Regions from separate parts of the Homo sapiens genome. Here region 2 is linked to region 1. Evidence: promoter capture Hi-C in 16 types of primary human blood cells and fetal thymus (Javierre and others, 2016). All regions are on one chromosome and are shown on one strand. The core of a region is centred on a gene start or on the middle of the fragment in contact, and the rest is flanking DNA. Distances in the headings are between cores, read along the strand shown. Region 1 holds the start of CLEC12A-AS1 (CLEC12A antisense RNA 1). Region 2 overlaps MAGOHB (mago homolog B, exon junction complex subunit).

Evidence for each region. The method cuts DNA at HindIII sites, captures the fragments that hold promoters and counts their contacts. A CHiCAGO score of 5 or more calls a contact.
Region 2: a fragment that was not itself captured here is called in contact with the fragment with the promoter of CLEC12A-AS1 in region 1 in 1 of 17 cell types (neutrophils); the score reaches 5.0 in neutrophils.

What each region holds. Positions count from the first base shown.
Region 1 is chr12:9,951,330-9,954,591 of GRCh38, reverse strand. It overlaps CLEC12A-AS1 (CLEC12A antisense RNA 1), which reads left to right and starts at 1,255. Exons shown (of 3, transcript NR_135047.1): 1 at 1,255-2,042; 2 at 2,513-3,262. It overlaps LOC124902874 (a long non-coding RNA gene), which reads right to left and starts at 2,935. Exons shown (of 2, transcript XR_007063207.1): 1 at 1,555-2,935. It also overlaps a transcript of CLEC12A not described here. The HindIII fragment of the contact is 17,088 bases long and covers 1-3,262 here.
Region 2 is chr12:10,606,623-10,610,207 of GRCh38, reverse strand. It overlaps MAGOHB (mago homolog B, exon junction complex subunit), which reads left to right. Exons shown (of 5, transcript NM_018048.5): 3 at 267-377; 4 at 2,272-2,354. Among named protein-coding and RNA genes, the nearest start is that of MAGOHB, 5.2 kb to the left of the region's middle. The HindIII fragment of the contact is 3,788 bases long and covers 1-3,322 here.

The DNA.
Region 1 (3,262 bases), core at 6-2,505:
TGGTTGAACTTTATTTGTTCTGATAGGTAATCCAATAAAGGTTGTGAAACAAAATTTTGAATAAAGCAGTTTCCATGATAGTTTGATTATTTTTTTTTTTGAGACAGGATCTCCGTCACCCAGGCTGGAAGTGCAGTGGTGTGATCAAGGCTCACTGCAGCCTCAACCTCCCAGGCTCAGGTAATCCTCCCACCTCAGCCTCCTGAGTAGCTGGGACTACAGGTATGCACCATTACACCCAGCTAATATTTGTATTTTTTGTAGAGACAGGGTTTCACCATGTTGCCCAGGCTGGTCTCGAACTCCTGGGCTCAAGTATCTGCCCACCTCAGTTTCTTGCGCCCAGCTGACAGTTTGATTTTTTTTTTTTTTTTTTTTTTTTTTTTATTGATAATTCTTGGGTGTTTCTCACAGAGGGGATTTGGCAGGGTCATGGGACAATAGTGGAGGGAAGGTCAGCAGATAAACAAGTGAACAAAGGTCTCTGGTTTTCCTAGGCAGAGGACCCTGCGGCCTTCCGCAGTGTTTGTGTCCCTGATTACTTGAGATTAGGGATTGGTGATGACTCTTAACGAGCATGCTGCCTTCAAGCATCTGTTTAACAAAGCACATCTTGCACCGCCCTTAATCCATTTAACCCTGAGTGGACACAGCACATGTTTCAGAGAGCACAGGGTTGGGGGTAAGGTCACAGATCAACAGGATCCCAAGGCAGAAGAATCTTTCTTAGTGCAGAACAAAATGAAAAGTCTCCCATGTCTACTTCTTTCTACACAGACACGGCAACCATCCCATTTCTCAATCTTTTCCCCACCTTTCCCGCCTTTCTATTCCACAAAGCCGCCATTGTCATCCTGGCCCGTTCTCAATGAGCTGCTGGGCACACCTCCCAGACGGGGTGGTGGCCGGGCAGAGGGGCTCCTCACTTCCCAGTAGGGGCGGCCGGGCAGAGGCGCCCCTCACCTCCCGGACGGGGCGGCTGGCCGGGCAGGGGGCTGACCCCCCCACCTCCCTCCCGGACGGGGCGGCTGGCCAGGCAGAGGGGCTCCTCACTTCCCAGTAGGGGGCGGCCGGGCAGAGGCGCCCCTCACCTCCCGGACGGGGCGGCTGGCTGGGCGGGGGGGCTGACCCCCCCCACCTCCCTCCCGGACGGGGCGGCTGGCCAGGCGGGGGGCTGACCCCCCCACCTCCCTCCCGGACGGGGCGGCTGGCCAGGCGGGGGGCTGACCCCCCCACCTCCCTCCCGGACGGGGCAGCTGGCTGGGCGGGGGGGCTGACCCCCCATCTCCGTCCCAGACGGGGTGGCTGGCCGGGCTGAGGGGCTCCTCACTTCCCAGTAGGGGGGGGCGGGCAGAGGCGCCCCTCACCTCCTGGACGGGGCGGCTGGCCGGGCAGGGGGCTGACCCCCCCACCTCCCTCCCGGACGGCATGGCTGGCCAGGCGGGGGGCTGACCCCCCACCTCCCTCCCGGATGGGGCGGCTGGCCGGGCGGAGGGCTAACCCCCCCCACCTCCCTCCCGGACGGGGTGGCTGCTGGGCGGAGACGCTCCTCACTTCCCAGATGGGGTGGCTGCCGGGCGGAGAGGCTCCTCACTTCTCAGACGGGGCGGCTGCCGGGCGGAGGGGCTCCTCACTTCTCAGACGGGGTGGTTGCCAGGCAGAGGGTCTCCTCACTTCTCAGACGGGGCGGCCGGGCAGAGACGCTCCTCACCTCCCAGACGGGGTCTCGGCCGGGCAGAGGCGCTCCTCACATCCCAGATGGGGCGGCGGGGCAGAGGCGCTCCCCACATCTCAGACGATGGGCGGCCGGGCAGAGACGCTCCTCACTTCCTAGATGTGATGGCGGCTGGGAAGAGGCGCTCCTCACTTCCTAGATGGGATGGCGGCCGGGCGGAGACGCTCCTCACTTTCCAGACTGGGCAGCCAGGCAGAGGGGCTCCTCACATCCCAGACGATGGGTGGCCAGGCGGAGACACTCCTCACTTCCCAGACGGGGTGGCGGCCGGGCAGAGGCTGCAATCTCGGCACTTTGGGAGGCCAAGGCAGGTTGCTGGGAGGTGTAGGTTGTAGTGAGCCGAGATCACGCCACTGCACTCCAGCCTGGGCACCATTGAGCACTGAGTGAACGAGACTCCGTCTGCAATCCCGGCACCTCGGGAGGCCAAGGCTGGCGGATCACTCGCGGTTAGGGGCTGGAGACCGGCCCGGCCAACACAGCGAAACCCCGTCTCCACCAAAACCAGTCAGGCGTGGTGGTGCGTGCCTGCAATCGCAGGCACTCGGCAGGCTGAGGCAGGAGAATCAGGCAGGGAGGTTGCAGTGAGCCGAGATGGCAGCAGTACAGTCCAGCTTCGGCTCCACATGAGAGGGAGACCGTGGGGAGAGGGAGAGGGAGACGGAGAGGGAGAGGGAGAGGGAGACGGAGAGGGAGAGGGAGAGGGAGACGGAGAGGGAGAGGGAGAGGGAGAGGGAGAGCGCTCACATCCTGTTTTTTTTTTTTTCCTTGAGACAGGGTCTGACAGTTTGATTTTTAAAGGCCAAATCTCTCCAGACTCCAAAGAACTCTGTAGCCAAACAGCAGCACATACTAATCAGGCCTGCCTGTCCTTAGAGCAGCAGCATAGAAGCCTGGAGACATGGACTTCCATCCCATATTCACATTCAACAGCAAAATAAATCCAAATATAAGGCAGTGCTACAATTCAAAGACTGTCTGAGATCAGATGAGATTGGGCATGTTCAGCGTGATACGGGTAGAGATGTTCCCTCACTCCACTGGCCCACAGCCACATGCAGACCAACCCTGAAGAATACACCCAAGCGGTCTGCACTCAGATCAAACCCTGATCTCCCACAACTACATCAACACACAAACAACCACCAGAATACAATCTAACTGCTGCAACAATAAGCAAGTCCCAAGAGAGTCCAAACTGAAACAGTTGAGTTGCTTTCTCCCTGTTTGTTGGGCTAGTTCAATCTGCAAATGGAGATTCCTTCGGAATTTCTCAAATTGAGAAAAGCAGATCCTGCTGTCTGGACCCACAAATGACACTCACTTATCCAGACACATACTCAATTACTAACAAGCCCCAAGAGTGTCTGAACTGGAACAGTCAGGGTGCTTCCTCTCTCCGTCAGTTGGCCTTGCTGAACTTGCCAATGGAAATTCCTTCAGAATTTCTCAAATTGAGAGGAGCCATTCCCACTGTCGGTATCCACAAAAGACACTCACCTATCCACATGCAGAAGTCAAATTTGA
Region 2 (3,585 bases), core at 179-2,678, 660 kb before region 1:
GGATCTCAGTGTTGCAAAGGCAGAATACAGTGTTTGAAAGACAGGTAATGATGAGAAGAGGGAAAAAATGTATGTGAAAGGAAAGGGCAAGAGATGAAGAAAAGCAGTGTAACAAGGATAAGTGATTCTGTCTCCTCTACTTTTGGAATCAATTAAATTTTTCTATATTCCTCTATTTGGATATTCAGGGTTTGTAACTCATTTCTTTCTGAGTTGAGGGGTGACATAGGTGGGCATTATCTCATTTTATTATGATTAATTTTTAGGCTTATGTGCACAAGAGTGTAATGGAAGAACTGAAGAGAATTATTGATGACAGTGAAATTACAAAAGAAGATGATGCTTTGTGGCCTCCCCCTGATAGGGTTGGCCGACAGGTTTGTATTTAGTGATTCTTTAAGTGTATAAATATTAAAAATTGATAATACTATTTTGTTTCCCGTTATTTATTTGGAATGAGTCTAAGTTGATTCTTTGGCTTTCTATTTAATAGGCACCTGGTAAATTCTCTTTAATTTTATCTCTTAGTTCTGTTTTTCTGTGCTACCTCCTAGTAGTGAAGGAGTCAGTGCATAGCTCTAAATTTAGACATCTTTCTCTGTAGTCACCCCAGCCAACGTTAGGATGTTTTCACAATGCAGTGTTATGAATAATTTCTGTTGTGTGTTAATCACTTTTATTAAGAATATGACTATGTAAAATTTATTTTTGCCAAATCATAACTTCTAAAATTCTTACTTGCATCCCTATACCCCAGAGAGAAACTTGATTGGTGGTTTCTTTGTTAAAACTGATGATTGCATTTCCCTCTCATATTCCTTCAGAATAAATGATGTTTCTCAGGCTTCTGAAGAACTCTGAAGGCCTAATTTCACTCTGTAAAAAGAAAGTTTGGTTTCTGAATTGGGTCTTTTCAACTCTTGGAGAAATTCCTTCAACAACCCCTGGAAGGAAGAAACATTTAATTTCACTTTTGTATATCCCTGAGGATTGTACTTTGTATCACCTTCTTTGAATAGAAGAAAATGTGGAGAAATCTAACACATGCTGACACTCTGTAGGAGTAACTTAAGTCTTCTGCTTAAAGAAGCATTATTTAGAAAAGCAAAGGTAATAGTTAACAGTATTTATTTTAAGCATCGTATCACTTTTAAAAAGTAAATTTAGGCCTCAGTTTGTTTTATGCAGATACACATATGTACTAAAAAGCAAACCACAGCAGCTAACCTTTTATATCATTTAGACTCAGGGAGAGCCTAGTATTTTATCTATTCACTTAAGGATGTGTTCATGGGTTTTGGTTAGTGGGGAGGAGTAGGCATGCTTCAGAAATTGCCTTTTGTATCAAGTCAAAGGTTTTATGGCTGTTAGAGCATCTTAGCTAATTCTCCATTCTGTGTGTGTCATAAACTGCATAATTAGGCCTCTGATTAAATAAATAGCTAGGATTGTCTTCAATAGTGTCTGTTAACTTGAAGATTCATTACAGATATAGCTTTTTAATTATTGGTTTTAGGCCTGCAGATAAACAATATAGGGAAAAATCTATACAGTAATTACAGCACACTAGGAACATCTACATTAGGTTGGTTTTTTTTTTTTTTTTTTACTAGTTCTTAATTTTAGTTATTTTGTGGAGTATTAGTTTTGAAGTCTTACCATCTTGGGATCAAATATAAGTACCATCATTATTAGTGGTTATAAATATCAACAAGTATTTTCTTCTGCTCTATGAGTTTTGGATTACACATTTGTAAAATAGGTTAGTAAGGTTATTTTCAAGATTACAGAGAGTACAAAGTCCCTACCACTAGGGCCTGACATACAGTAGGTGCTAAAGTGGTGGTGGTTATTAATATTACACATTTTATTTGTAGAATCTTCCAGAAAGAAAAAATGTGTATTTATCATATTAAAAATGGTCTTATACTCCAATCATTTTTACAACATGTGCTTCAAAGTGATGTCTTTAGTTTTTACTGACATTGTAAGAAATATTTCTTTGTCATTTTGTTTCATAGTGTCTTCTTTATGTCTCTGGAAAGCAATTCTTTGTTGGTCCTAAACTTGGGGGTAGTGCGCGTGAGCAGTCTTTATTTTAAGGATATAGTTTATATCTAAGAAACCATGTTTCTTTCCCCCTCGCCCCCCACTCCCTCTGTTGGCTGCTAGAAAACTTGCAACTAAAATTGGGATCTGCTTGTAGCAAGAATACAGATACCTCTGGGATAGATTTTTATATTAACTACATTTTTCTGCTATATTTTTTAGGAGCTTGAAATTGTAATTGGAGATGAGCACATATCTTTTACCACATCAAAAATAGGTTCTCTTATTGATGTAAATCAGTCAAAGTAAGTATGTTAAAGCATTTTGGCGAAGTTTTCATTATTACAGAGGCTCATTTTAGAACTATAGTCAGTTTGCTAGCCAAGATAATTTCAGTGGCATCCTATCAGTTTATTATGCAGATGTAATCCTGATTTTTATGTCATTAAAGGCTTATTATCTTGTCTCTCAGTAGAAGTTAGCAGAGTATTTCATTGATTGTCCAAAAACTTTTAATCCAACAGCTGTATATAATAATGCCCAAGTTGTATTAGCTACTTTGTATAAAAATGTGGATACAGTATCAGCAAATCCAAAGGAAAGAAATCCTTATTGGATTATGTCAGCCTCATTAGGCCTATATCATCTCACTGTCCTTCTTGGGCTCAATACTTGGGAAAAAGATGGAAAAAATCCATTATGGCCTAAGTATGCTTTAGCTATCGATGTCTTCCCAAGATCTGTCTCTCCTCTGCCCCAGGGTTTTGTAGCACATCCCATTTTCTTGGTCTGATCCTAGCCACTTATTTTTATTTGTGCCCATTCCCCTCAAAGTGTCCCCATAGTGCTCTTACTTTTTTCTGTCACCCTGAATTGTAATAACCTATTTGTCTGCTTTACTGGTTTGAATGTAAGCTCCTTGAGAACCTTGCTGTATCCACAGAGTTAGCATAGTGCCCTGCACATAATAGATGCTTTCAATAAATATTTGTTAGTGGAAAGGAGAAAGGAATGAATGCATGATAACTATTGGACGCAAAATCTGTGTTCACAAAGACCATCCAAATGCTTTTAAACTATCAAATTTCTTTTCCTACATTTGGTAAGGGTGTGGCATTGATACCCTACTGGGATTATAAATTGGTAATGGTTTTTGGAAAGCAGTTTGGTAATATGCATCAAAAACTGTTGACATTTTTCATTCACCTTTGGCCTAGTAATTTCATTTCTGAGCATCTCTTCTATGGAACTATTCCTAAATATTGGAAAAGCTTTATTATGCATGAAGATGCTCATTGAAGTATTATTTATAATAGGAAATTAACCCCAGTGTCTAACAAGGAGAGAATTATTAAATTAATTAAAAATTACTAGGGAATTTTTTTTTTTTAATGCTGTGGGGAAAGTAATGTAAAAAAGGGCACAAGGAATAATTTTAGTTATTAAAAAATAGAGAAACATCAAAATGTTTATAGTTATTCTATGAAATGGTAGCATTACAGTATTATTTTTTTCTGCTTTATTAGACATTTTTAT